Linked DNA regions of Homo sapiens: all the other regions are linked to region 1. The links are contacts of gene promoters, found by promoter capture Hi-C in human tissues and cell types (Jung and others, 2019). All regions are on one chromosome and are shown on one strand. Each heading gives the region's core, a stretch centred on a gene start or on the middle of the fragment in contact. The rest is flanking DNA. Distances are from core to core; before and after follow the strand shown. Region 1 holds the start of ANKRD39 (ankyrin repeat domain 39). Region 2 overlaps KANSL3 (KAT8 regulatory NSL complex subunit 3). Region 3 holds the start of FAHD2B (fumarylacetoacetate hydrolase domain containing 2B). Region 4 overlaps FER1L5 (fer-1 like family member 5).

Region 1 (4,445 bases), core at 1,786-4,285:
AGCTGGAGAAAGGGGCCAAGGCTACTGAGAGGACCTTGGTGTACCCCCTGGAGCTGCCCAAGGAGCCCACCAGTCCCCCCTTCCGGCCCTGTCCTGAACCAGATGAGAAACTTTGGGATCCTGTCGGTTACTACTATTCAGATGGCTCCCTTAAGATAGTACCTGGGCATGCCCGGTGCCAGCCCGGTGGGGGGCCCCCTTCGCCACCTCCAGGCATCCCAGGCCAGCCTCTGCCTTCTCCAACTCGGCTTCACCTGGGGGGTGGGCGGAACTCAAATGCCAATGGTTACGTGCGCTTACAACTAGGAGGGGAGGACCGGGGAGGGCTCGGGCACCCCCTGCCTGAGCTCGCGGATGAACTGAGACGCAAACTGCAGCAACGCCAGCCACTGCCCGACTCCAACCCCGAGGAGTCATCAGTATGAGGGGAACCCCCACCGCGTCGGCGGGAAGCGTGGGAGGTGTAGCTCCTACTTTTGCACAGGCACCAGCTACCTCAGGGACATGGCACGGGCACCTGCTCTGTCTGGGACAGATACTGCCCAGCACCCACCCGGCCATGAGGACCTGCTCTGCTCAGCACGGGCACTGCCACTTGGTGTGGCTCACCAGGGCACCAGCCTCGCAGAAGGCATCTTCCTCCTCTCTGTGAATCACAGACACGCGGGACCCCAGCCGCCAAAACTTTTCAAGGCAGAAGTTTCAAGATGTGTGTTTGTCTGTATTTGCACATGTGTTTGTGTGTGTGTGTATGTGTGTGTGCACGCGCGTGCGCGCTTGTGGCATAGCCTTCCTGTTTCTGTCAAGTCTTCCCTTGGCCTGGGTCCTCCTGGTGAGTCATTGGAGCTATGAAGGGGAAGGGGTCGTATCACTTTGTCTCTCCTACCCCCACTGCCCCGAGTGTCGGGCAGCGATGTACATATGGAGGTGGGGTGGACAGGGTGCTGTGCCCCTTCAGAGGGAGTGCAGGGCTTGGGGTGGGCCTAGTCCTGCTCCTAGGGCTGTGAATGTTTTCAGGGTGGGGGGAGGGAGATGGAGCCTCCTGTGTGTTTGGGGGGAAGGGTGGGTGGGGCCTCCCACTTGGCCCCGGGGTTCAGTGGTATTTTATACTTGCCTTCTTCCTGTACAGGGCTGGGAAAGGCTGTGTGAGGGGAGAGAAGGGAGAGGGTGGGCCTGCTGTGGACAATGGCATACTCTCTTCCAGCCCTAGGAGGAGGGCTCCTAACAGTGTAACTTATTGTGTCCCCGCGTATTTATTTGTTGTAAATATTTGAGTATTTTTATATTGACAAATAAAATGGAGAAAATGAAACGATTGCTCTGATGGGGCTAAGATGTTTGGGCTAAAGCCTTTCTGGGTACCAAGAGGGAAGGCTCTCTGGGTGGAGGGAGGCTGGACTGGGCCTCCCCCACAATCCCAGGGCAGCCACCACTTTTGTGGTCCCTGCCTGCCTGTGGGAGGGGACAGCCCAGCTCTAGTGTTTTCCCACAGTGGTGGCTGCGGGGCTGGGAACGAGACCATGGCCATAGCCCCTTGGGAGCCAGCCTTGGCTTCTGGCCAGAAGGAGAAGTCAGGGCACTGGGAGTCCAGGGGAGAAGCGGAGTGGTGGGGGGGGTGCCTTCCCAGAACTCAAGACGGGTAGTGGGAATGAGGGGCCAAAGGAGTGGAAGGTTGTGGAGATGAGATCATTGCTTGTGTGAGGATGGGGTTCTCAACCTGCTTAGGGGAGGAGAAACGACTTCCAGCCTTCTACCCACCAGGAATGCTAGGGTCTTCCGTGCCCCAACTAGCGGGGGAAGGAACTTACATCCAGTGTGCACCAGACCACTGTCCTGGAGAGGGACTGGCACAGAACCCAACCTGCATTCTGTCGTTCATGCACTCTTTCTAAGCCGATCAGGCGGTCTCCCCTGTACACTTGATCGTGGCTTGAGCAGGCAGCTGCCTGGGTTTTAACTGGGAATTGAGAAGGCTGGGGTCCGCTGAGGAGCACGCTGCGAAGGTGCGCGGTCCGCAGACGGCCTCCCGGTGGGTTTTGATCATGAAGACCGATTCCGTAAACTCAGCGCCCACTGTGGGGCCAGGGGGTTCTGCACAAACCAAGGCCCTGCCCCTGCCCTGAGGTGGAGCTACAGGCAGGACAAGTTGTGGCCACCTGCCCCTTGCTGGACTTGTAAGGAAGAGCAGGGTACGGGGAGGGGCGTCTCGAGGCCTTTCCAGCCGTCACTTTGCCGCTGCCCCGGGGGCGGTCGGCCTTGGTCCGGGGTGGTGCCAGGAAGAGGGGCTAAAAACCGTGGAGCGCGCCCCGGCCCGATGGCTCACGCCTGTAATCCCAGCACTTTGGGAGGCCAAGGTGAGCGGATCACGAGGTCAAGAGATCGAGACCATCCTGGCGAAACCCCGTCTCTACTAAAAAATACAAAAAATTAGCCGGGCGTGGTGGCGGGCGCCTGTAGTCCCAGCTACTCAGGAGTCTGACGCAGGAGAATCGCTTGAACCCGGGAGGCGGAGGTTGCAGTGAGCCGAGATCGCGCCACTGCACACAAGTCTGGGTGACAGCGAGACTCCGTCTCAAAAAAAAAAAAAAAAAAAAAAAAGACCGCGGAGCGCGTGGCGCCTCCCTGCCCTAGGGACTAGGGGCGGTAAAGAGAGGAGGCTGCGAGGTCGCTGGACGGCTGGGTCATGGCGAAGGTAACGGGAAAGCTCCCGACCGGACCCAGCTGCCTCATCCCCACACCCTGCAAGGCCAGGCGGCCCGGCGGCCCTCCAGCGGCGCGCGGCTCCCGGAACCCAGCGCCTCAGTCCTCGCTTGGCCTTGGACGCCCTCGCGCGGAGGCCTCGGGGCACGGCCGGGCGCAACAAGCCCCGCCCTACCGTTGCAATTGGTTCTCGAGCTAAGGCCTAGGCGTTTGATTGGTCAGCTTTGGCGAGAAGGCGGGACTAGGGCGACAGCCGCGGACGCCGAGCGGCCAGATCAGGGACGCGGGGCGGGCCCTGCGTCCGCCCCTCCCGCCGAGGCTGAGCCTGAGACCCGGGGCGGATCGACTGACGCCGGGGCCGGGATGGCGACGCCTCGGCCCTGCGCGGACGGGCCCTGCTGCTCGCATCCCAGCGCGGTGCTCGGCGTACAGCAGACGCTGGAGGAGATGGACTTCGAGAGGGGTGAGGCTGCCGCGCGGCCCTCGTGGTTCTCACCAGGCCCCGGCCCAAGGAGGAGGCGTGGGGCCAAGGAGAGGCGGATGAACGGGGCCCCGAGAGCTTGGGGCTTGGGGCTTGGGGCCTGGTGCGGGAAGGCGGGCGGGACCCACGGTTCCCGTGTACTGAGAGCCTCCCAGGGCCCCGCACGAGCTCGGCCAGGAGACACCTGTCCCGCGGGCGGCGGGGAAGCGGAAGCACTGGTTTCCGTAACCCTCCCGAGTAGCGGGGGACGACCTCCCCTGGGAGACACAAGCCTGCTCAGGTGTTTGAGAGAGGGCCCGGGGAGCAGAATCTGCACCAGGGGCATTGCACCCAACCTGAGGGGCATGGAGCTGCAGGCCTGGGGGCTGCGCGGTGAAGGAGAGCAGTGGCCTTTGTTTAGCCCCGGGTGCCAGGCAGCCTGCATGCTTTAAAGATGGCAAGAGCTTCGCACGGGCAGCCTTCGAGGCAGGGCACAGTATCTCATCTGTGGGACCCAGAGAGGTAACACGTTTGGCCCAGATTATACAGAGATTATGGTGCCAATAGGAACAGAGGAAGGCGGGAAACCAGGGTGCTTCTTGTGAGCGTTGGGAACCACTGTGCTGTGTCATCTGCCCTTGCGGATGCAGCCCTCGATTGCCACTGCTGTGTAAGCATTCTCATGGAACTCTTCCTTTACCGTGGTTCTGGCACCTGCCTACTTCCCTCCGCCCCTCCTACCGCTGTCCTCTGCACTGCTGAAGTGGTTGCCTCAGAGGGTCTTTCTGCTTCCACGCTTGCCTTCCTACAGGGTTTTCTACTCTCACATAGCAGCCAGAGCGGCTTTTTGAAAATTAGAAATCACATCATTCCCTGTTATGGCCTACAAAGCTCTGTAGACCCACCCCTGCCGGTTCTACTTCTCCTCCTCATTTTATTTCTCATGCTTTTCTTCCCCCAATCACTACGCCGCAGCCACACTGGTCTTGTTTTGGTGTCTCAAATATGCAAGACCTTTTCCTGAGTTAAGGCCGTTGGACTTGCTGTCCCATCTCCTTAGAATGAACTTCCTACAACCGTTAAGCTAGCTGATGCTTTTCTTCAGATCCCAGCTCCAATGTCATCTCCTCAGAGACCCTCCCTAAACACCCCAGTTCTCAACTGGGGGCAGTTCTGCCCTTTAAGGGACTTTGAATATCTGGAGACATTTTGGGTTGTCACAATCAGGAGGGTGCTACAGGCGTGTAGTAGGTAGAGATGAGAGATGCTGTATACATGGTACAAT
Region 2 (4,445 bases), core at 1,348-3,847, 230 kb after region 1:
TCTTTTCCTACTGGCTTCTTTCACCCAGCATGATGTTTTCAAGGTTTATCCATGTGGTTGCGTGTATCAGCACTTCATGCTTTTTATTGCCAAATGACATTACATTGTATGGATAGCCCACATTTTATTTATTCATTAATCAGTTGATAGATATTTAGATTGTTTTCATTTTTTGGCAATTGTGAATAATGCTATTATGAACATTTGCATACAAGTTTTTGTGTGGATCTAAGTTTTTAATTCTCTTAGTTATATACCTGGGAGTGGACTTGTTGGGTCATATGATAACTCTGTATTTAACCTTTGAGGAATTGCCAGACTGTTTTCCAAAGTGGCTGTACCATTTTACATTCCTACCAGCAGTGTATGAGAGTTCTAGTTTCTCCATATCCTTGCCAACACTTACTGATTTTCTTCTTTTTTAAAAAAATTATAACCATTCTACTGCGTGTAAAGTGGCATCTCATTGTGGTTTCAACTTATATTTTGTTGATGGCTTTTTGTCTGTGTATCCATATATCTACTATATATATAAGGAAATGTTACTTCTTATATCAGGAGTTGGTAGGTGGTAACTTTCCATAATTTTGGAGAACCCTTATTTTATAATAGAGAGAAAGAGGGGTAGAAAGTTTGAGGTGATTGACATGACTTCTGAAGCTGGTTGGAAGTTGGGAATGAGATTGAACAGGTGTGCTTGTGTGATCAAAACAGCAGCTGTTGAGGGAGGAGCAGTTCTGCACCTTGGTTGAAAAAGCTTGTGAAGAAGTTGGTTGGGGTCTTGCATTGGAATTAATTTAGTGCCTTAAGAAGCTCTTTTCTCACGCCTGTAATCCCAGTACTTTGGGAGGTTGAGGCGGGTGGATCACCTGAGGTCGGGAGTTCAAGACCAGCCTGACCAACATGGAGAAACTCTGTCTCTGCTAAAAATACAAAATTAGCTGGGTGTGGTGGCGCATGCCTGTAATCCCAGCTACTCGGGAGGCTGAGGCAGGAGAATCACTTGAACCTGGGAGGCGGAGGTTGTGGTGAGCCGAGATCGTGCCATTGCACTCCAGTCTGGGCACCAAGAGTGAAACACCATCTCAAAAAAAGAAAAAAAAGCTCTTTTGAGCTTCAGATAAAGAAGAAAACTGCTACGAATGAAGATCAACTACTGGAATATTGCTAGAGTCAGTATATTCAGCAAAAGGATTTATCACTATTTTTACAGTTAATAATAAAAAATAACGACGATGGTAATAACAAAAAGGAGCTACCGTTTGTTGAGTGCTTTCTAGGTGCCAGACATTGTATCAATGTCTCTTCAAATGCATTGTCTCTTAATCCTCCCAATGACTCTTGGAGGTATATCCCCCCTTCATCTCTGCTCAACAGGATGAAGAAACTGAGCTCAGGGTGTTTAAGAAACCTTAATTAGGAAGTGATGGAGAAGGATTTTGTTCAAACCAAGCAGCCTGACTCCAGAACCCAGTGTTCTCAACTACCATACCCTCTGCCTTAATTAAGGGCAGTAAGAAGAGATTAAGACCAGTTAGTGGTGGCTGAACAAGGTGGCCTGGTATGGTTATGTATCCCTTTGTGGTATTTTCTACTACCTTGTCCTTTGCAATTTCAGAAAGTACATAGGAGAACTGTGTGATTTTTTTTTTTTTTGTCAGTTTATCCATGGTTATGATTAAGAGGTTTTTGTGGACAATTCATACTTATCAAAGTCATTAGAGACTTAATAATACTATAAATACCAGTTTGTTTCTTTTTTCTTTTTTTTGAGACAGGGTCTCACTCTGTCACCCAGACTGCAGTGCAGTGGCACGATCTCAGCTCACTACAAGCCTTGACCTCCAGGACTCAGGTGATTCTCCCGGGTGGGAACCTTAACCTCCCAAGTAGCTGGGACTACAGGAGTACGTCACCATTTCTTAATTTTTGTAGTTTTTGTAGAGATTGGGTTTCACCATGTTGCCTAGGCTGGTCTCAAACTCCTGGCTCAAGTGGTCTGCCCACCTTTGCCTCCCAAAGTGCTAGGATTATAGGTGTGAGCCACTGCACTTGGCTGAGTTTCTTAATTTATAAGGAGAGATATAACTGCAAAGCATAAGAGACACTGGGGTGGCCTGGCCAGAGTGTCTGTTCTCAGCAGGAAAGTCTGGAAAACCATTTTATTTCAGAAGTGAATAGATGAGTGGAGAGTCTACACAGGAGGCACAGCAGAATAGCTGGATGTACACATCTTTCCTCTAGGCAAGATGAGTCCACGGAATAGGCCAGTGTGCACCTTCTCCTGCCTGTCCTTTAGAGAAACACTGACAGATTCTTGTCTTTGGCTTATCTTTCTCCAGTCTCCTTGTGGACCACCACCCTTCTGTTATGACATTGCCACATTGCCACAGATTGATGTAATCCATTAAAGCTCAATTTATCAGATTATTTGTTTTCTTAGTGTCTGATGAGATTTTGGAGGCCTTCTCTCATTGGCAGCAGGCTTACACACCATCTCTTTTGGTAGGTAACTTTTGTACATAGCCGATTTTATTATTTATGATAACTTATTAGTTTCAGTTTCAGATACCACCATTTTATGACCCTGTCCCTGAATCTGTAGCCTGTTTGGAGCTTGCAGTTCCTTCTGCTCTGATTATAATCATCGTGTTGCCATTCTTTCCCTGACTTGATTGTTAAATTGCTGCTTCCTTTCTTCTTATATAAAGTCATGTAAAATTAGTTTGCCACATCAAGAGCTCCATGAACGGTGTAGGTCGGCTCCCTAGAACTCTGGAGTTCTTTCCCGGAGAGTTTACTGATTGCTCTTTGTCTGTGGAGGCAGAAACTTAATTTCCTTGTTAAGAGCTTTTTTCCTCTCTCTTGAATGATTTCAGTAGAAACTGTCTTCAGATAGCTTTGTGTATATAGGCTAGGCGCAGTAGCTCTCGCCTGTAATCCCAGCACTTTGGGAGGCTGAGGCGGGAAGATAATTTGAGGTGAGGAGTTTGAGACCAGCCTGACCAACATAGTGAAACCCCGTCTCTACTAAAAATAGTAAAAATTAGCTGGTGTGGTGGCAAACGCCTGTAATCTCAGCTACTCGGGAGGCTGAGGCAGGAGAATCTCTTGAACCTGGAAGGCAGAGGTTGCAGTGAGCCGAGATCGTGCCACTGCACTCCAGCCCGGGCAACAGAGCAAGACTCCGTCTCAAAAAAAAAAAAGAAGCATGTTCCTCCCTTCCCTGCCCCTGACTCTGGCTTTCTTTATTAATGGCTGATATTTTGTGAAATGGTTTAAATATTACTACCTTATTTAATTGTCTGCATTAGTGGTTGTCTAACTATGACAGTGGGCTGATTTAAATTTGGCCCATTGCTTGTTTTTGTGTGGAATGATTTTTACATTTTTAAATAGTTGCAAAAAAATTAATACTGTTTCATGACACATGAAATTAAAATTTCGGTGTGCATAAGCTTTTATTGAGATACAGTCATATTCATTAGGTATTATCCATGGCTGCTTTTGCAGTAAAGCCACAAAATTGAATAGTGGCAGAAGCCATATGGCCTGGAAACCCTAAAACATTTTCTGTCCGGCCTCTTATAGAAAAAGTGAGCTTCCTGGGTCATGTTCTTGTGTCTGCGTGCCATGGCATGTGACTTAGAGGACCTTTGAAAATGATTTCTATTTGCTGGCATAGTGATGTAGTCCTGAAGATGTTGGGCCAGCTTTTTTTTCCCTCCAGATGTTTGTCAAATGTGAAGTTTCATTAGTTGCATAGCTTTTGAAAGACATTTAATAAAATTTTCCTGACACATGATACTTCTCAGAATTGCTCAAATGGATTTTAGGACATTTCCAACATTTTAGTGAAAGAATGTAGTAGTATCCAAAAGCAGGCTTTCTTATCTTAGAAATCAGAACTTCTGAATTCCAGCCAAAAACACCCCATTTTCCTTTTCTGAGCCTTCTTTAGTTTTATATTCAATATTGTATGTATCTGTATAAATCTTAGGTTGGATGTTTGAAATTTTAAGTCCAAGGTCTTTGAGTTATCGTCCCTCCTTCCCCTCCCCCACCCTCTTTATTTCCCCTTCCTTCATTCCTTCCCTTCTTCTAGTGTTTAGACAAAGAATTTTATAATCTGAAAAAGGAAAGTATGACTGTTGAGTTTATCTGATGTACTTTGTGTCTCCTTGTTTGACTTCTGGTTAAAAAAAAATCCTTTAGATATTTTAATGTTGAATTAATTAGTCTTCTTTGAAACAGTATCCAAAATAATGATTACCTTTGAAAATACCAGATATTTTCAGGACCAATGTTATATTTTGGCTGCTTTGAATAGAATGAGCCAGAGGTCAGCATATCATTCAGGTTCAGTCAGAGCAGGGAGAACAAAAGATTTTCTGATCTCATCTAAGAAAGGAAGAAAAGACATTTTTGCCCTCATGAAAATTGAA
Region 3 (4,445 bases), core at 628-3,127, 240 kb before region 1:
CCCAGGTCCTCCACATTCTTTCGAATACTTGGTATAATCAGTCTTCTTTGTCCATTCTAGTAGGTGTGAGACGGTGTCACACTGTGCTTGTAATTTGCATATCCTTAATTATTAATGATGTTGAGCATCTTTTCATGTCTTTCAATTTTCTATCTGTATATCTTCTTTGGTGAAGTGTCTGTTTAAATATTTTGTCCATTTAAAAAATTGAATTGTTTGATTTTATCTATTGATTTTAAGTGCTCTTTCTATATTCTGGATACAAGTCTTTTATCAAATATAGCCTCTGAAGATCTTTTCTTTCAGGCTGTAACTTAGCTTTTCAGAAAGTCTTTGGGAGCTATGGCTTAATGAAACACTTACGCCAGGTTCTCCTCAGCACATCCCCCTGATCACAGCCACCCCCATAGGCTCCATTTCTTTTTTTTTTTTTTTTTTTTTTTGAGACAGAGTCTCGCTCTGTTCCCCAGTGGTGTGATCTGGGCTCACTGCAAGCTCTGCCTCCCGGGTTCAGGCCATTCTCCTGCCTCAGCCTCCCGAATAGCTGGGACTACAGGCGCCCGCCAACACGCCCGGCTAATTTTTTGTATATTTAGTGGAGACGGCGTTTCATAATGTTGGCCGGGATGGTCTCGATCTCCTGATCTGATTCGCCCACCTTGGCCTCCCAAAGTGCTGGGATTACAGGTGTGAGCCACCGCACCCGGCCATAGGTTCCATTTCTATATCAGTGGTGACTTTCTGCAAGCTAGGCTGAAGTCCCAAGCTCCAGACCCACGTCTCCAACTGCCCACCGTTCAATGCCCTTTGGATGTCCCATGCAAATTGGAGCTCACTATCATCTCCCCAGACCCGCTGCTCCTCCAGAAGCCCTGTCTCCATGAACGGCCCTGCACCTACCGGGCTAGAGACCCAGGAGCCGGCCTTGTACCTGCTTCCTTCTCACTTCCACCTCCTGTCATCCAGAGCTGTCAGTTCTTCTTCCTGAACATCTCTGGACACTCACCTTCTCCGCCAAGCACCGCACCACCATTGTTCTCACCCGCACCACCCACCCAGATACCTTTCCTTAGACGGGTGGCCAGAGAAAAACTTCTCAAATAGAAGTCGGGCCATGGCACGCCACTGAGGACCTTCCAGCGGTCTCCTGTGCACTTAAACGAGGTCCAGACTCCTTTGTGGGACAAGTAAAGCTCTTGATGATCTGGTCCTTGAGTAATGTGGGGGCCTCTTGCCCAGAGCCCCTCACACTCTTCAAAGCCGGCAGCTGAAGAGCTGAGCAGTAGCTGTCTGTGGAGTTCAGCCACCGCTCCCCGCACGCCTGCCCTCTGCAGGGGATGGAGCACCGTTTCCCCACTTCCCCACCTGCGCCCAGCAGTGCAGGTGAAGGCCTGGCTGCGGAGAGTGGCTGGGAAACGCTGAGCTTTGGGGTCAGGAATGCCAGCTCCACTACTCACCGCCTGTGTCACCCTGGGAAAACAGCTCTGGCCCCAGGTTCTCCATAAGTAAAACAGGGTCACTCATCCCTCCCCTCCTTAACGACATATGTCAGAATCAGAAGCCACAAATCATTCTCTCCCACCCAGCACGCTGCCTTGGTCTCCTAGACCACTTTCCCCAACAATGGGAAAGGCGCCAGGCCCAGAACAAGGCCGAGACCGGATGAGGCCAGCGAAGCGCCCAGGGACAAACTTTCAGGCAGCGCCCACTCTCGGTCTCGGGCAATTGCAGGGTCCCTCCGAGAGCGACCGTCTCCAGAAAACGCGGCCGCCGCCTGCCTATGCCCTGAGCCTGAAGAGCCCCCGGCGCCGCCCGCCCCGCACTGGGCCCGCCCTCCGGGATTGGTGCCCTGCTAGGGGTGGTTGCCTGTGACGTCACAGGACGCGCCCGCTTCTCGCTGGAGTGCGCACCGAGCGGCAGTGACTTCGCCGCTGCTGTAGTTCCCCGGCTGGATGCGGTGACTGGTGCCAGTGCTCAGGCGCCCGCTGCCCTTGACCTCCCGCCCCGCGAGCCCTAACTCAGCGCAGGAGGACCGGCTGCCGCCGCCGCCGCCGCCAGGTAGACCAGGCCTGGCTGGGTTAGGCCAGAAGGGTGTCCCTGGCGCAGGTCTCCCGCGGAGGGCAGAACTAGAACCAGGTTCCCGGCCGTTTCCGACCACACGGATGGGGCGGACCCATGTGAGCCCTCACTAATTGCAGGGGACGAAGCTGGGCATATGGGGAAACTGGGGGTTTCCAGGCGAGTGGACGGTGGGATGGGATCCGACGTGCACACCCACGTTTCAGGCTACTGTTTCCACCTCACGTCGCCGCCCCTTTGCTTATGGACTCTTGCAGAGTTGGATTGAGCTCGGACTGTGTGACATAGTGGTTGTTGCAGAAGCCCCAGGGCCACTTTCTGACTAGTACCTTGGGCACCTGACGTCATCCCTTTGAGTCTCAGTGTCCTCTTCTGTAAAGTGAGGGCGCTTTACCTGAGGGGATTGCTGTAAGGTTGGAATGAACCTGCATGTGTGTGTCATGTGGGAAGGGAACAGTCAATGGGGCCTGGAGTTCTCTTGGAGAGCTGGTAACCAGCCTCGTCCCTGAGGCAATAGCCAGAGAGCGCCTGTAGTTTCCCCACGCATGGCTGTTTGCAGGGCCTCTGGAGGATCTCCTGTGGGAGGTCCCTACTTCTCACTACAATCTTTAGGGCCTTTGGAGGATTTCCTATGGAAGGTCCCCACTTCTCACCACAACATTCTGGGTTAAAATGTCCTTGGTAGGAAGATGGGGCTGAAGCTAGATTTTCTTGCTTGCATTACAGGCTTCTGAACCAAGGACTTCAATGTCACCTGGACTTGGATTCACATCCCAGCTCCCTCCCCTCCTAGCTTTAAGACTGTGTAACCTTGGGCAAATCCCTTAACCGCTTTAAGCCTTAACTGTTTCATCTGTAAAATGGGACTAACAGTACCTACCTTCCACAAGCGTCAAGAATTAAATCAGGCCGGGCGCCGTGGCTCACTCCTGTAATACCAACAATTTGGGAGGCCGAGGTGGGCGGATCACAAGGTCAGGAGATCGAGACCATCCTGGCTAACTCAGTGAAACACCGTCTCTACTAAAAATACAAAAATTAGCCGGGCGTGGCGGCATGCGCCTGTAGTCCCAGCTGCTGGGGAGGCTGAGGCAGGAGAATGGCATGAACCCGGGAGGCAGAGCTTGCAGTGAGCCAAGATTGCGCCACTGCACTCCAGCCTGGGCGACAGAGCGAGACTCCATCTCAAAAAAAAAAAAAAAAAAAAAGAATTAAATCAGACATTGTAGGTAGAGCACTTAATAGTTGGCATTCAGCGGCAGCAGTTACTGTTATGTTAGCATGTGGAGTGTCTGAGTGTGTGCACTTTGGCTCGAACAGCCTTTTGACAGTGGCACAGTTGGTGCTTGTGTAAGATAGCAGGGCAGAGAAGTCAAAACTCTGTTTTCTAGTCAAACTGGCGGGCCACAACAGTGGTGACCTAAGTCTAATGAGTCTTTAACTGAACAAGGCAGATTGAATCTCCAAGTGAGGACCAAGAGTCTGGGGCTCAGCTGCCTCAACATTTTTGGGCATAGAAGGCTGTACAATACAAACTGCCTTTGTTGGAAGAGCAAGGAACCATTCAGGGAAGGCACCATGTGGTAAGGAATAGTGGCCAGACTTGGATTCAGAACAAAACAAGAGAATAGTGTTTGTCTTTAAGTGGAGCCTTGGACTCAAAACAGGACCTGAGCTCTGTGGATAATTTCTTTTTTTTTTTTTTTTTTTTTTTGGAGTCGCTCTGTTGCCTGGGCTGGAGGGATGTGGCATGTTCTTGGCTCACTACAACCTCTGCCTCCTGTGTTCAAGTGATTCTCTTGTCTCAGCTTCCCTAGTAGCTGGGATTACAGGTGCCCGCCACCAGTCCTGGCTAATTTTTTTGCATTTTTAGGGGATACAGGGTTTCACCATGTTGGCCAGGCTGGTCTTGAACTCCTGACCTCAAGTGATCCACCCACCTCGACCTCCCAAAGTGCTAGGGATTTCAGGTGTGAGCCACTGCGTCTGGCCCTTGTGGATACTTTCTAGGTGATTTGAGGAGGAAAGGCACAGCCATGTCTCCTGAAGTTAACAAGCATTAAGCTTTCCCAAGTAGTGAAATGTCAAGCCCCTGCTTCTGTCACTTATTTGTTCATTTAGCAGAAAGTCACTGAGAGCCTTCTGTGCACCAGGCACAGTGCTGGGCAGTGAAAGAGACAGACATGTGCCCTGGATCCAGGGAGGAGATGACCAAGTGATGGCTGTCAGGCCTAGACCTTGCTGTTTGTCTGCAGCCTCTTCCCTCAGGCAACTTGTTCTCTATCAGGAGAAATGAAATAATTATTATCTGGGGAGGCAGGTGGGGGTGTTGCTCCTAGAAGACAAGGACAGCCTGGTAGAGGTTC
Region 4 (4,445 bases), core at 1,311-3,810, 180 kb after region 1:
GCCTTTGAGTGAAAGACTGGAATGATAAATAAGCAGAGATGCATGCCTGGGGCTCTCAGTGTGAGGATACACAACAGCAATTTTCCTCTCCTACTCTTGGAGAACTTACAAAAGCAACAAGCAGAAGGAAAATAACTCAGTTTTCAGCAAACCAAGGAGACAGATATAATCTGCAGACTCAAAATACACGTAAGGACTGCCAAAAGCAACTGTGACCGCCACCGAAGCCAAGGGGTGAAGCGCAGCAGCAGCAGCCACCTGCGGGACACGACTAGCAAGACAGACAGCGGGAAGCATGCTGAGTAGGGGCAGATTGCAGAAAGTGCCAGCAAAAACACACTCCCTGAAGGAGCTCAGGAGCTTATGAGGCAATGTGAGCCCGTAAACTTCAGAAAACAAGTAGAAGAAAAAACAAAAACAGAGATGGGAAGGTAACATAAGTAGTCCACGGGAGATTAGATGCTGCAGACAATTCAGTGAGGGGCATGGAAATAAGGATAGAAATAAGAAAAGTAACCGAAATGAAATGGAAAGAATAGGTCAAAAAAGGATCAGGGAGAAAATGACAGATACAGATAAAACCAAGGAGAATCACTAAACCCATAAATGGAGCCTCTGATGTAGAAAATTAAACAATGGAACAGAGTAAGTATTTTAACATGTAACCTAGGAAAACACATGAGGAAAGGATGGTCTTTTTAACAAATGTTGCTTGAACAACTGGATATTCACATGCAAATTAATTCAAAATGAATCATACAGATAAGTGTAAGAGGTAAAACTGTAAAAACTACAGGTGTGGCCGGGTGCGGTGGCTCACGCCTGTAATCCCAGCACTTTGGGAGGCTGAAGCGGGTGGATCACGAGGTCACGAGATCGAGACCAGCCTGACCAACATGGTGAAACCCCGTCTCTACTAAAAATAGAAAAATTAGCTGGGCGTGGTGACACGCGCCTGTAATCTCAGCTACTCAGGAGGCTGAGGCAGGAGAATTGCTTGAACCTGGGAAGTGGAGGTTGCAGTGAGCCGAGATTGTGCCACTGCACTCCAGCCTGGTGAGGGAGCGAGACGCCATCTCAAAAAAAAAAAAAACTATAGGTGTGTGTCGCCATGCCCAGCTAATTTTTTAAAAAATTTCTGTAGGATCTCGCCATGTTGCCCAGGCTGGTCTTGAACTCCTGGGCTCAAGTGATCTGCCTCAGCCTCCCAAAGTGTTGGGATTACAGGCGTGAGCCACCACACCCAGCCAAAACTAGAAAACTTAGAAGAAAAAATAGGAGAAAAATCTTCACAATCATGAGTTAACCAAAGAGTTCTTAGCTATAACACCATAAAAGAAAAAATAAATTGGATTTTATCAAATTAAAAATGTTGGCACTTCAAAAGACACTACTAAGAAAATGAAAAGACAAGCCACAGACAATTTGCAAATCACATATCTGGTACAGGACTTGTATGCAGAATATATAATGAATTATTGCAACTCAATAATAAGAGAAACAATGCAATTTAAAAACAGGCAACACATTTGAATAGACATATCACTAAAGAAGATAAATGAATGGTTAATGAGCACATGAAAAGATGTGGCCAGGCACAATGGCTCATGCCTGTAATCCCAGCACTTTGGGAGGCCAAGGTGGGTGGATTGCTTGAGCCCAGGAGTTCAAGAACAGCCTGGACAAAATGGAGAAACTCCGTCTCTACTAAAAATACAAAAATTAGCCAGGTGTGGTGGTGCGTGCCTGTAGTCCCAGCTACTTGGGAGTCAGGTGGGAGGATCACCTGAGCCCTGGAAGCACAGGTTGCCATGAGCCCGTGATTGCACCACTGCACTCCAGCTTGGGTGTCAGAGCGAGACCCTGTCTCAAAGAATAGAAAATAAAAATAGGCTGAGTGCAGTGGCTCACACCTGTAATCCCAGCACTTTGGGAGGCCGAGGTGGGTGGATTGCTTGAGCCCAGGAGTTTTGAGACCAGGCTGGGCAACATGGTGAAACCCTGTCTCTACGAAAAATACAAAATCTAGCCGGGCGTGGTGGCACATGCCTGTAGTCCCAGCTACTTGGTGGGGCTGAGGAAAGAGAATTGCTTGAACCCGGGGGGCGGGCGGAGGTTGCAGTGAGCTGGGATTGCCCCACTGCACTCCAGCCTGGGTGTCAGAGCGAGATTCGGTCTCAAAAAATAAATCAATAAATAATAAAAATTAAAAAAAAAAAGGTGCTCAGTGTCATTACATGAAATGCAGATTAACACAACGATGAGCTGCCACTGTGTGCCTACTATACTAAATAAAGACAGATGATAAATGAGAAACTGAAATCATCTTACATTTCTAGGAGAATATAAAATGGTGTGGCCACTTTGGAAAAGCTTGGCAGTTTCTTAAAAAGCCATTCCACTTAAAGACTTGTATACGAATGTTCACAGCAGCTTTATTCTTTTTTTTTTTTTTTGAGACGGAGTTTCGCTCTTGTTGCCCAGGCTGGAGTGCAATGGTGTGATCTCAGCTCACTGCAACCTCCGCCTCCTGGGTTCAAGCAATTCTCCTGCCTCAGCCTCCTGAGTAGCTGGGATTACAGGCATGTGCCACCATGCCCGGGTAATTTTGTATTTTTAGTAGAGACGGGGTTTCACCATGTTGGTCAGGCTGGTCTCGAACTCCCGACCTCAGGTGATCCACCCGCCTCAGCCTCCCAAAGTGCTAGGATTACAGGAGTGAGCCACCGTGCCCGGGCAGCTTTATTCTTAATAGCTAAGAGGTGGGAACAATGCCCATCAACTGATGAATGGATTAACAAATGATGGATGGTACACCCATACGATGGAATACTATTTGGCAATGAAAAGGAATGGAGAACTGATACACACTGCATCATGGATAAACCTGGAAAACATTACGCCAAGTGAAGGAAGCCAGATGCAAAAGATGACATATTGTATAATTTCATTTATATGAAACATCCAGGAAAAGTAAATATGCAGAGACAAAAGTAGATTAATAGTTGTGTGGACCTGGGGGTGGGGACAGGGGAGTCACTACAAAGCAAGAGAATTCTGTGGTATGTAAATTACATCATTAAATAGATTACTAACAAAATAAGATTTTACTCATCAACATAGATGCAAAAGCCTCAACAAAATATTAGCAAGCCAATTCCAGAATGTATAACAAAGATAGGACGGGCATCGTGGCCCACGCCTGTAATCCCAGCACTTTAGGAAGCTGAGGCGAGCGGATGACCTGAGGTCAGGAGTTCGAGACCAGCCTGGCCAACGTGGCGAAACCCTATCTCTACTAAAAATACAAAAATTAGCTGGGCGTGGTGGCACACTCCTGTAATCCCAGCTACTGGGGAGGCTGAAGCAGGAGTATCACTTGAACCCGGGAACCCAAGAGGCAGACCGCCGCACTCCGGCCTGGGCGACAGAGTGAGACTCCGTCCCAAAAATATTTAAAAAAAGGTATAACAAAGATAATGTAAGGTATCAATGCAATTATACTGTAATTAATTGCATGGTATATTACATATAATAAAACAATTATTTCTGTGAGGTGGCATATTATTAACTCAAAGTAGACTATGATGAGTTAAGGGTCAATATTGTAATTCCTTGAGCAACCACTAAAAATAATCCAAAGATACATATTGTCAATAGATAGAATGTAATACTAAAAAAAAAAAAAAACAAAAAATACCTGATGAAAACGAACACAGGAAATTCCAGTGGCCTTTTTTGTAGAAATTGTTGAGCTTATGCTAAAATAGGAAAATGGGAAGTAACCCATTTTCAACAAAAGTCCAACCCAAAGACTTGTACAATAGCCAAAATTATTTTGTAAAAGAACAACTAGGCCGGGCCCAGCGGCTCACGCTTGTAATTCCAGCACTTTGGGAGGCTGAGGTGGGCAGATCACCTGAGGTCGGGAGTTTGAGACCAGCCTGATCAACATGGAGAAACTCCATCTCTACTAAAAATACAAAATTAGGCATGGTGGCGCATGCCTGTAATCCCAGCTACTTGGGAGGCTGAGGCAGGAGAATTGCTTGAACCCAGGAGGCGGAGGTTGTGGTGGATAAGGATAGGCAAATAGATCAATAATATGGTTAACTGATTTTCAACAAAGGTGGCAAAGTAATTCAATGTGGGACTGAATTACTGAATTACTTTCAGGCAAATGGTGCTCCACTGGTTATCTGTATAGAGAAAAATAATCTCAATTCCTCCCTCATACCATATGCAAAAATTAAGTCAAATTGGATCATAAACCCAAACAAAAAAGATAAAACGATAAAGCTTGTAGAATGAAACAGAGGAGACAATTTTCATGATCTTGAGATAGACAGATATTTCTTAGACCACATAATCTACTAACTATAAAATTGATAATCAACCGGGCTGAGCGCAGTGGCTCACACTTGTAATACCAGCACTTTGGGAGG

The links. The method cuts DNA at HindIII sites, captures the fragments that hold promoters and counts their contacts. A contact is called where the count stands out against the background at its distance.
Region 2: a contact is called between a fragment that was not itself captured here and the fragment with the promoter of ANKRD39 in region 1, in 1 of the 25 tissues and cell types used here (small bowel).
Region 3: a contact is called between the fragment with the promoter of FAHD2B here and the fragment with the promoter of ANKRD39 in region 1, in 2 of the 25 tissues and cell types used here (H1 embryonic stem cells and dorsolateral prefrontal cortex).
Region 4: a contact is called between a fragment that was not itself captured here and the fragment with the promoter of ANKRD39 in region 1, in 1 of the 25 tissues and cell types used here (stomach).

The regions. Positions count from the first base shown.
Region 1 is chr2:96,856,606-96,861,050 of GRCh38, reverse strand. It overlaps ANKRD39 (ankyrin repeat domain 39), which reads left to right and starts at 3,035. Exons shown (of 4, transcript NM_016466.6): 1 at 3,035-3,163. The coding sequence starts at 3,064. SEMA4C (semaphorin 4C) reads left to right here. Exons shown (of 15, transcript NM_017789.5): 15 at 1-1,333. The coding sequence ends at 425. RefSeq lists silencers at 2,505-3,174, 3,205-3,374. The HindIII fragment of the contact is 43,475 bases long and covers 1-4,445 here.
Region 2 is chr2:96,625,982-96,630,426 of GRCh38, reverse strand. All of the region lies in intron 3 of KANSL3 (KAT8 regulatory NSL complex subunit 3), which reads left to right. Among named protein-coding and RNA genes, the nearest start is that of KANSL3, 10 kb to the left of the region's middle. The HindIII fragment of the contact is 4,794 bases long and covers 201-4,445 here.
Region 3 is chr2:97,092,314-97,096,758 of GRCh38, reverse strand. It overlaps FAHD2B (fumarylacetoacetate hydrolase domain containing 2B), which reads left to right and starts at 1,877. Exons shown (of 9, transcript NM_001320848.2): 1 at 1,877-2,058. The HindIII fragment of the contact is 11,159 bases long and covers 1-4,445 here.
Region 4 is chr2:96,675,877-96,680,321 of GRCh38, reverse strand. The region is part of intron 19 of FER1L5 (fer-1 like family member 5); the gene reads right to left. Among named protein-coding and RNA genes, the nearest start is that of FER1L5, 35 kb to the right of the region's middle. The HindIII fragment of the contact is 5,493 bases long and covers 1-4,445 here.